3 separate regions of the Homo sapiens genome follow, and all the other regions are linked to region 2. Evidence: promoter capture Hi-C in 16 types of primary human blood cells and fetal thymus (Javierre and others, 2016). All regions are on one chromosome and are shown on one strand. The core of a region is centred on a gene start or on the middle of the fragment in contact, and the rest is flanking DNA. Distances in the headings are between cores, read along the strand shown. Region 1 holds the start of FAM3D (FAM3 metabolism regulating signaling molecule D). Region 2 holds the start of PTPRG (protein tyrosine phosphatase receptor type G). Region 3 holds the start of CFAP20DC-DT (CFAP20DC divergent transcript).

Region 1 (3,590 bases), core at 316-2,815, 2.9 Mb before region 2:
TGAGCAATGGCAAACTCCTCCCTAGCCTGTGCAGACCTGGGCGCAACAACCTCACTGACTTCACCTTCCACCACCAGCTACTACCCCTTTCCTGCTTGAGCTGCTCTGCCCTCCTCTTTCTTTCCTCCTGTTCCCCCTTCTCAGAGATTCTCCACTGACCCAATCTTTTCCTCCCCTGCCCTTCACTCCTGAAGGACCCGGCATTCTCTTGGGAGAAGTCTGCCCTGACTCCCAGGCTATCTCCATGGTGTATGTCAAACTGTTTTGAAAATGACTATCTGTGCAAGTTTTCCCTTTCTGGTTAGAACCATGTATGATACCTCATCTTGTTAATCATTGTGTCTTTTTTACCTGACCCAATTAATGCTCACTGGATGAATCATCTAGAAGGACACTCTTGTACCCAGGCAGCCCACTTCCAGCCATGGACTCAGAATCCACTGCAGTGTAGAGTCAGTGTGGCATAGTGGGCAGGAGCAAAAGCTTTGCAGCCAGATTGCCTGGGGAAGTTATTAAATCTCTCACTGCCTTGGCTCTCCGTCTGCAGAGTGGGAATAATCATGGTGCTTTCCTTGTAGAGGTGATAGGAAGATTAAATGTGTTATTATATGGAGAGCACTTAGCACATCATACATGTTATTTTATGTACTTCAGTGATGATTATCATAGTTGCGTAGACAATGAGAACTTCAGCGATTGATGGGGGATATTCAGACTCTCTCTCCCATTTTACAGATGAGGAAACTGAGTCTTAGTGAAAGGGACTAGCTCAATATTACATAGCTAGAAAATCTCTCAAGTCCATGCACCTTTGTCATAACTTTTCAGATCATTACCTTATGAGAAAAATGAGATTTGGGGCCAAAGAACAACATTCCTTTCTTTTTTATTCATTTTTCAAATATTTGTGTGGCTCACTGTTGATCATTGGAATGTGTTTTTTTGAATCAATAGATGAGTGAATGAAAGAATAAATGTTGAGGGGCCCCTGTGGTTAAGGAAAAAACCCTGCAGTGTGGGTTATCAAATCCCTAGCTGGCATGCCCTACAGCTCCTTCTTGTGCCCATGGCAGACATAGCTAATCAATCATAGCATGCTTTTGCCTGAGCCCGAACCCAGCCCCAGAATCCTTTTTATCACAGTCTAATTTCATTGATCAGGCCTGGTGCCTCAGATGAAATCTATTTGCCTTCCTGAGTCTGATCTCAGGAATCTCTTCGATTATGTGGTTTCCTTCTTTCTTTCCTTTCATCATTCTGTCTCAGGCTCTTTCACTCCTATTTCCCACCCTCCCCACCTCCATTTTCCCCTCTGTCAATCATGTGTACCTGGAACCATAGCCCTTTCCATTCTTGGGGGGACGTACCCGAGGGCTCGAGGCTCCCACTTCCCTGCTTCGATGGAGAAGGCGAGGTGGTCCAGCAGGTGCCGTAGGTCCCTGACCCAGCTGACCACCACCCTGGGCCAGCTTCTGACAGTCCCACCTCCCAGTTGCTGGAGGGGTAGTGGCCTCACAGACGGCCCTCCTCTAGATGCAGTGGGCCCAGAGGGTGAGACGGAGTGTTGCGGGCCGCCAGTGGGCCAGCTGCTCCTGCCCTGCGCAGGCTCTGCCCCTCCTTTGAGGAAGTTTGCCATCAACTCTCCCTGCCCTGTTAAACAATCTCACAAGGAAGGAGGAAGTTTATTCTAAGTGCTCACGGGGCAGGAAATGAGTCTAAAGTCTTGCCTGGCTGAGGAGTGGCTTAGGGCCTGGCTGGGGCCTGGGGAGAAGGGCCATGCCTGTTCCCTTCCTGTAGAGCTATCCTGACCTTGGCAAGGGAGGTTTGGGTGGGAATTCAAGCAACTTAATCAGGAATGAGATACCACAATCTGCCTTCGAAAACAGCCAAAAAACCTTACAAAAAACCCGACCCTGTGCTAACAACCTCCCCAGGCGCTGGGAGGTGTGGGGCTGGTAGAGCGAGTAACTGCAGCTGATGATCACCTGCTTTGAGGTTCTGGACTAGAGTGTGGGGGGGTGCTGGAGGGGCTGACTGGAAAGAGGGGAACCCAGGCAAGAAACTCAGGACAGGAAAGATGGAGGAGGTCAAAGGCAACTGCAAGATATTGAGCTTGGATGATGGAAAAGGGAGGCTTCTTGGTCAAGAGTGAGGAAGATGGGGGAGAGGAAGTGGTTTGGGAAAAGATTCTGGATTTGGGTGGGGCATATTGAATTAGAGGTTAAAGGTGGAGGGGGTGGGGTGTGGAGAAAGGGAAAGACGGAGAAAGAAAAGAAGGGCTGCTCAGTGGCAGACTTTTAGTGAAATGGTGAATGCAGCCTTTGTCTCCCTTCTCTCTCCTTAGGACCCAAGGTGCACTGAGAGGGGCTCAGCTTCCCCCTCCCCTGATCCAGCACTCCCAGTCTTTGTCACAAATCATGGTCTCTTTCCCAAGCGCTTTCCTCTTAGGAGGAGTTCTTGCCTCGGTCCTTGGCACACAGGCTCCTGGCAACTTCCTCCCTTGTTTGCTGACTCTGAATGCTTCCGTAGGCTGTGTGGCCCACTTGGAAGGAATATTCAGGGGCATGAGGTCCAGCAGCTGGTCAGGAAATGAAGATGCATGCCCAGGGAGCTGGTGCAAGGGAAGAGCAGGGAGCGGACCCTGTGTGATGAGGTGCCGGGAGTGGCCCCAGTTCTGCTGTTCCAGCTGCCCATCCCCAGGTAGGCACGTGGGCCCCCTCAGGATGTATCCCAGGGCGAGGCAGTGCTTTCCTTCACTCTGACTGGCTTTAGGACTGGTCCTGTCCTCTGTCCCATCTCCTTGCCTCTTGCTCTCCCTTATTCTGCTAGGACGGTTCTGCCCATAACTGGTGCCTGGGTCTTGTTCAGACCTGACCTGCAGTGTCACTTCCTCAGGGGGGCCCTCCTGACCCTCACTTCCAATATAAATAAGCACACAAGTGTAGGGGAGTAAAAATGGCTTTCTCTACCCTTCTAGCTGCCTTGGCTGGTCAGGAATTAAACTGACAGCAGGGAGAATAACAGGAGAAAAGGTACAGACATTTATCACATGCATGGGGGCATCCCAGGAAAGAAAAGGAATTCCCCACACCCAGTAAGATTTAGAAGCTTGTATACCCTCTTCACAAGGGAGAGAGGGGTGGGGTGTCAGCACCGTAGTGGAGAGTAAATGATTTCTGGGGAAGAGGAGTGGGCCCTCAGCAGGACAGGTGACGACAGCCTGTGACAAAGGCTATCTGGACGTAGTGTGGACCTTTAGACTCCTGTGAAACGAGCCAGTCCTTCCGGCTGATGAGATTCCCTGGGCGGAGATTCATGGCCACTGCGTTTGCTCTGGACAATCTGTCTTTAGACAGAAAAGGAAAACTCGGAAAGCCCCTCCCTGCAGTTGCTGTTCCCCAAGTGACCTCAGTTCAAAGTCTCAAAGTGGCATATTTTGGGGAGTTACTTCGGAACTCCTTCACAAGCAAATCATTTAAAATTGAGACATTCTGTGAAAGAACCCATGAAAGTGATTCCAGGAGAACTTTCCTCAGCAGGTGGTCAGGGAAGGCCTCTCTGAGGAGGGGTGCTTTGAGGAGCTGCAGTAA
Region 2 (3,531 bases), core at 7-2,506:
AGAATCGCCCGAACCCGGGAGGCGAAGGTTGTAGTGAGCCGAAATCGAGCCACTGTACTCCAGCCTGGGCGACGGAGCGAGACTCCGTCTCAAAACAAAACAAAACAATCCCACGTCAAGATCGCTTTGAAACACAGGCAGAAAAATTAGGCAAAAAATGTCAAACGGCTAATTACCTTGGCTCAGTTACACATTTACTCGAAAGCCCGCCTCCCCCACTTTTAGCCCCAGCGTTAAGAATGTAAAATAGGGCGCTTAGAAGTCTAAGCGATAAAGATCTTCTTACCGAGAGCCAAGGGACAAAACTCATTACAGATAAGCCTAGTCCTCCCATTTCCCCCGGACGCCTCTCCCCGATTGCTAAAGAAGCAGCCGCTCCCCGGGTAGCTGCCAGGAAATCAGTCCGGCCCCGCGGCGCTGCTTTCACCCTGCAGGGTGTAAGAGGCGCACTTCCTGCGCCCTCCCCGCGGCCAAACCGGGGTGCGGGAACCTTCTCCAGAGAAGCTGCGAGTTGGGGAAACTCCGCCACCGATCCATCGTGGCGCCGGGAAAGGGGATGCGGGGCTCGGAAGGGCTAGATTTCGCAATCCTGGGATCGACATTCCTCCCCTCCCCCACTTTCCCCAGCCTTGGACTGGGCCAATGAAAGCCCGAAAAAGAAAAAAAAAAAAAATTAAATCTCAATGTAGCCGGAGTGCAAAGGCCGCTCGGCTTTGTTTCCCGGCGGGGGAATGCGCTGTGTTGGAGGCGCGAACAGGAGCCGCAGACGGTGAGCCTCACCGCTGCAAATGCCAGGGCAGTGAAGCCGAACAGAAAACCCCATCGCTTTAAAAAGGCAGCTGTCCGCCCTCCCCCTTTCCCCTCGCCAGGGCGAGGGGCCCCTCAAGTCCGGGATCCGCGAGCTGCGCGGAGGATCTCGCCAAACCCGAGCACCGTGCGGCGTCTTTTAAGAGCTCGAACAACGGGAATCCAGCAAAAAACAAGCCGGCCCCAGAAGGCAGCCTCCCTCCTCTCTCCGCGCACGGGCTACAATCGCCCCCAGTCCCCAAACTGTCCCAGTAGAGGCCGCGCGGAGAGAGCAGAGCCGAGGGACCCAGCGCAAGGCGGGAGCCAAGCGCGGCTGCTTTAAGAACGCGGAGAGCGCGCGCCCGCCGCCAGCTGGCCCGGGCTGCGCGCCCCCGCCGCCACCGCGCGCCCCCTGTTCGCTCGCTCCTTCGCTCGCCGGCTTTAAAGTCTCTGCCAGGATCCATGCTCACATGTTACTTCCTGTATGGAGGCATGGCCAGTTTCCAGCCCCGCGCTCTTCGTTCCTTCCCAGCCTGCGCCGGAGCCACAACTTTCAGGAGCATGGACTGAAGGCGCCCTCGCCCCAGCGCCCCTCTGAGATCCTTTGTGTTTTCCTCCGTTTCCTCCGGCCGTTTCTATTTTGGGGGGCTCTCCGCTCCCCCTGCCTCTCCCCTCCCCTTCCCCTCTCGCAAACATGCCTCCTTCCTTCCCGGGGCCCTGGAAGGAGCTGCCTGCCTGAAGCCCGGAGACGCCGCGCCGCGCTCAGCCCCGCCGCCGCCCGCCGGCTCTCGGGCTGTGCTGCGCTGCCGACTCAAGTTGGGGATCCTCGGCTGCTCGCCGCCGCCGCCCGCGGTCCCTGCCTGCCCCAGGCCCGGGGCATCGCCGCCGGCCGCCGACTCCGCGCCCTGCCCGATCGGCTCTCTCCTTTTTAAACGGAAAGCAGCCTTTCTCCGCCGAGAGGATCGTCCCCAGCGTGGCTCTGCGTTCCCGGTCACTTTTTGAGATTTTCCGGGGGGCGCTCGGCGGCTTCCCGGATTCCAAGGGGACTCGGGCCGCCGAGCGCGGGGGGCCCGTGGAGCGGGCGAGCCGGGGAAGCGCCCCGGCTTAGCGGAGGCTCGCACGGAGGCAAGAACTTATTCAACAAGTTTACCTCCCTGCTTTCCTCTTTTCGATGTGCGTTTTCGGACATGCGGAGGTTACTGGAACCGTGTTGGTGGATTTTGTTCCTGAAAATCACCAGTTCCGTGCTCCATTATGTCGTGTGCTTCCCCGGTGAGTGCCGGCCGCCGAGGGGATGCGGCCCCGGCCGGCGCGCGTTGGGGATGCGGAGTTGTCGCCTGGGCGCGGAGCTCCGGCGCCCGTCCGGGAGACCCTGGAGAGGGTGGAGGGTGGCCCGGCGCCCGGATAGGAGAAAAGGATTGCTCCGCTGGCTTGGATGATGTTTAGGGAGGCAGGCTAGTGGTCGAGGAAGGTGGAGGCAGGGGCTGGCCGGGGAGGGGGCTGGGGGACGCGGGGGTCTGCTCCCGCTCCCTTTTGGGGGTCCTGGGGAGCTGGAATCGGGAGAAAGGGGGACTTGCTTTGCTGACTCGTCGCCGATCGGGAGAACTCGAGTTGTGGGGCGGTTGGGGAGACTGAGGCCATGGAAAGGATGCTTCTGTGGGTTTGGGGGGCCCGGGATGAGCCCCCTCGCTCTGGCGGGTATTGAAGGAACTCAGAAGGTGGGGGTTTGCTTTGCTGTTCTCCATCCCTTTGGGAGGGCTAGGTTTCGGGGAATGGAAGTCGGAGGCTGGCTGCGGAGGACTGAGGATGTGTGGGGAGCAGCCTGCGTTCTGGGTCGGGGGCGTCCTCCCTCTCTCTGGGGGCTGGGGCGCGGGCAGCACTTCGGTGCCGGCGTGAGGCAGCCTCCTTGGGCGCAGTGAGACGGCAGGGCGCAGGCGGTTTCGGAGAGATCCGTGTCTCCCCTAGCCCCGGCCCGTGGCCCTTTCCCTCCGCTGCTCTGCTCGATTGGATTGCCTGGGTCTGGACGCGGGGAGGGGGCGGGGGCGGTTTCGGCGGCCGGGGCGGTTTCGGCGGCCGGGTTGCTGTTCGCGCCGGGGCTGATTTTTTTCCTGTCTCGCGCGCCCTGCCTACCTTCATCTTTGCCCTTTTGCAGGCTGTTCGCGGCTGGCAGACCCAGTCTCGCTCCTTTCTGGCCAGGTTAAGACAGGAACAATACTGGCCGTTGATAAGAATAAATCACCGCACGTAACGGTGTGCGGCTCGGCGACCCTCCACTTCCAGCTCTCAGCTGGCAGTTCCCCCTCCTCTCTCCCCTGGGGAGGGCAGAGGCCAGCTGCCTCCCTCTCCTCTCTTGCAGGTCCCCCGGGCAGCAGCCCCGAGCTCCCTCGTAGCTGTCCCTTGGGGTGGAGGCCAAGTCCTGCCCTAGCCCGGGGAAGGGCTGGAAGAAGGGGTGATTTGCTTTTCATCCCTCGCTCCCCTAAGGACAGAGAATTCCCCGTTTTTCTGCCCTCTCATCCATCAACTCCTGCATACCCGGAGGTGGAGGTTATCTGAATCAAGAAAAAGAGGAATGTGCCCCGAGGTCTCCGCTCTGCCTGGTTACAGACGCCTGTCCTCGGGCGGCTGGAGCGCCCGTTTTTGGTGCAGCGGGTCCCTTAGTCCCGTCGTGCGACCCGGAGCAGGGCGCGCGGGAGCCCTCGTCGCCCTTGGGGATCCCCTCGGGGGACTGGCAGCGAATGCCCCCTT
Region 3 (3,248 bases), core at 54-2,553, 2.5 Mb before region 2:
TTTTTCTCGGCTCTAGTCTGAGATTCCTGTCAGATTGCTTTGTCAGTCAGCATGTAAATAGGCAAGAAGCAATCCAAGACTGACTTTTGAAACCTCTGACCCTATCTTGGGCCCTGACAAGTTCTGGGACTCTGGCAGGTCCAAGCTTTAGCTTCTCTCCTGTGCAATCACCTACTTCACTAGATTTCTAAGAAATAGATAAGATAATTTCAAGTATTCATTTAGTGGTAGGTGTGTGGCATAGTAGGCTGTCAAAAATGGTAGCTGCTGTTATTATGATGATCACCTATTAGCCCAATTCCCACCCATCTTACAGCTAAGAAAACTGGGAGACAACTATTAAAAAGCTGAACTCAAAATGTCCTGGCTCACAGTTCACTTCTTTCCATTCCAACACGCAGAACAAGCCTCAGCTTGCAGAATCTAACATCTGGGAGGAGCAAGCTCATTTTATGGCTATAAGCTAGCCAGAAAAGAATATGGCATGTATACTTACTTAATGAAAAGTAAACAGAAAGACCTTTTTAGTCCTTTGGCTGCAAATCAGAATCTTTTTGTGCAAATTGAATTCATTTTGTTATTGCTTCAGGATAAAATAGATTCCATTACCATTCTCCATCACTATTTCTCCATTTTTCTTGCTCTCAGTGTATCCCATCTCTTAGAATTAGAATGGGAACTTTGGTTGATCACAGTAGCCATTGGGAAGTTATAGGGTAAACAAAGAAAAATAACCTTTACTGATAAAAAAGAAGGAGTAAAAAATAATCTTTGGGATACCAGTAACACTTTTTTTTCAGTCGGAGTCTCCCCACTCTGTTGCCCAGGCTGGAGTACAGTGGTGCGATCTTGGCTCGCTGCAGCCTCCGAGGCAGATGCATCACTTGAGGTCAGGAGTTCAAGACCAGCCTGGCCAACGTGATGAAACCCTGTCTCTATTAAAAATACAAAAATTAGCCAGGCTTGGTGGCATGCTTGTAATCCCAGCTACTCAGGAGGCTGAGGCGGGAGAATTGCTTGAACCCAATAACATTTTAATTTGAAAAATTTCCATAAAATTAGACTAGAGAGCTTTTGTGATCATATATAAATTGTAGGTGTATGACCCTTTTTGAGATTTGTATTTCACCTAGCAGTCAGGAAAAATCAGGTTGAGTAAAAAAAGTAGGTTGAAAAAATAATTAAAGGGAAATCTGAATTTTTAACATTCAAATATATTCTATTAGGTTTTTTTAAAACAACTATTGACTATATCTTTTACTAATAAAATGCAGCCTGAGGGAGGTGACTCCACAATACAAAAATAGCAAGAAATTCATGATTTTTGCTCCTTTCTTAATAATTTTTCTGTATTTTTATAGGATGGCCAAAGCTGTACCACTTAATGCTTTCAACGCAGATGATATAATGGGGGTAAAAATCCAGCCGGGTCCCTCTCCATCTCCCCAAGTCTTACGGAGAATGAACCACCTTTTATCTTTATACAAAGACTCCATCTTTTCACCAAGTCACATGCCCTGGGGGCTGCATCTATTCTTAAGGGACACCTTTCTAACTTGTCCAAAAATCCTGTATAGGCTAGGATGGTATAGGTGTTATAGCCTTACTAAATAATAACATCATAACACAGCCTGAAATGAGCTTACAGAACAAATCTGTTTTCCAACAATAAGTAAACACTCCAACTCTTACACATAAAAGTTTGTAATAGAAAATTTACCCTGTGTGAAAACTTCCAAAGTTCAATTACTAGTTAATTCATTTCCTTTATTCATGCGTGCATCTATTCATTCAATACACATAATAAATAGTTCCACTGCTGATCTAAGATATAAAGAATTTCAGAGGGCGTTCCATAAACAGTGAGTAAAAGTTAACCCATTGCTATTATATGCTATCACTGTGTGATTACATGCATATTATCATGATTACCCATTAATTTATAACACTGCACTTTTAGATGGATTGTTGAAAACTTGCTTAGTGTTTTCGGAATAGCTGCTAAGAAAAAGCTAGCCTTTGATTAGCACCTAGCTCCACTGTTTTCTATTTACCCTTTGAAGAAAACCTGTTCTGAATGTTTGCCTTTGTAGCAATTGTTAGGTTGGAAGGGGGTCCTTTTGGGTAGTTGCTCCACCTCAATAGGTCTCTATACCCAGCTCAGGCCACAGTAGCAGGCAGGTTCATTTTAATATAAATAACATTAATGAATGTCCTGTGTTGTAATATTATTCTTGAATCTTTACTTCTCTAGGAGTTCTCTTTTTATTTCTCTTTATACCCACAACAAATGCATTTCATAGCTTTTCAATGAGCAATCAAATACTTTGCAGACCAGAGCTCTGACTTCCATGGGTTCTCTTTTGGGAATCTGAGAGGTTAGTATTTTATGTATTAATTATGTCAGTTCATCTTTTACATAACATTCATTAATCTCTCTGGTGAAAACATCCCAAACAAATCAAGCTTCCTTCTTTTCCTTTTACTTACAGGTGTTTTGGGGAGCAGTGCTAAGAAAGACTCCCCACCCTTAGTGAGAAGAGAATAATACTGACAGGGGCTTGTCATCTTGAGTGTAAGTGTTTACAAATTAATCAGGTTCACTAACTCATAGTGCCTAACAGGGTTACCAATGGAAGTTGTTACAGTACCATTGAAATATTTTTCTTTTACTGCCTATTTTCCCTTCTCCTGGTAATTATATACCCATTTATCTTTTAGCCCATTAAGTAGTATTAGTTCAATGCCCCACTCAAGAGTTGAACATTTACCTGGGTTTCAGCCAATTAGCATATCATATTTCCTGGTCACAGTGATTTGTTCAGAGAAAGCCTTGCCACCAGATTGGAACCAATGAGACAGAATGAACCTTTGGCTGGCTGGGAATGCTGGGGCGAGAGCTCCCAGTCTTTTCTATTGAATATGGATGAGGAGGAGCCATCTTAGGAACACTGTGAGAGCCTGTCTGACAATGGTGTGTATGCAGAGATGGGGAGAGAGAAGTTGGATTTGGGTGGCTTTGTCTGAGTCCTTGGGTCCAGCGATGCCTATAGTCAGATTTGCCCCACTGGATTTTTTCGCTATATAAGCAATTCTCATTTTGCATCATCTAGTTAGGGTTGGAACAAACGACTGATACAGCATAGAGGGTGTGAAGAAGTATATGGGTAAGGGTTGAAGATGTGTTTGCTGAGATTGAGGCATCACTGACACAGTTTGGAATCCCTCCTGGTTCACCTGCAGCCCAG

Evidence for each region. The method cuts DNA at HindIII sites, captures the fragments that hold promoters and counts their contacts. A CHiCAGO score of 5 or more calls a contact.
Region 1: the fragment with the promoter of FAM3D here is called in contact with the fragment with the promoter of PTPRG in region 2 in 2 of 17 cell types (naive CD4 T cells and total CD4 T cells); the score reaches 7.8 in naive CD4 T cells.
Region 3: a fragment that was not itself captured here is called in contact with the fragment with the promoter of PTPRG in region 2 in 1 of 17 cell types (total CD4 T cells); the score reaches 5.8 in total CD4 T cells.

What each region holds. Positions count from the first base shown.
Region 1 is chr3:58,665,209-58,668,798 of GRCh38, forward strand. FAM3D (FAM3 metabolism regulating signaling molecule D) reads right to left here and starts at 1,566. Exons shown (of 10, transcript NM_138805.3): 1 at 1,368-1,566. LOC105377109 (a long non-coding RNA gene) reads left to right here. Exons shown (of 3, transcript XR_940879.3): 2 at 2,345-2,700. The HindIII fragment of the contact is 2,625 bases long and covers 482-3,106 here.
Region 2 is chr3:61,560,315-61,563,845 of GRCh38, forward strand. It overlaps PTPRG (protein tyrosine phosphatase receptor type G), which reads left to right and starts at 1,257. Exons shown (of 30, transcript NM_002841.4): 1 at 1,257-2,058. The coding sequence starts at 1,974. RefSeq lists an enhancer at 1-34. The HindIII fragment of the contact is 7,216 bases long and covers 1-3,531 here.
Region 3 is chr3:59,084,348-59,087,595 of GRCh38, forward strand. CFAP20DC-DT (CFAP20DC divergent transcript) reads left to right here and starts at 2,493. Exons shown (of 7, transcript XR_002959675.2): 1 at 2,493-2,575. The HindIII fragment of the contact is 2,321 bases long and covers 144-2,464 here.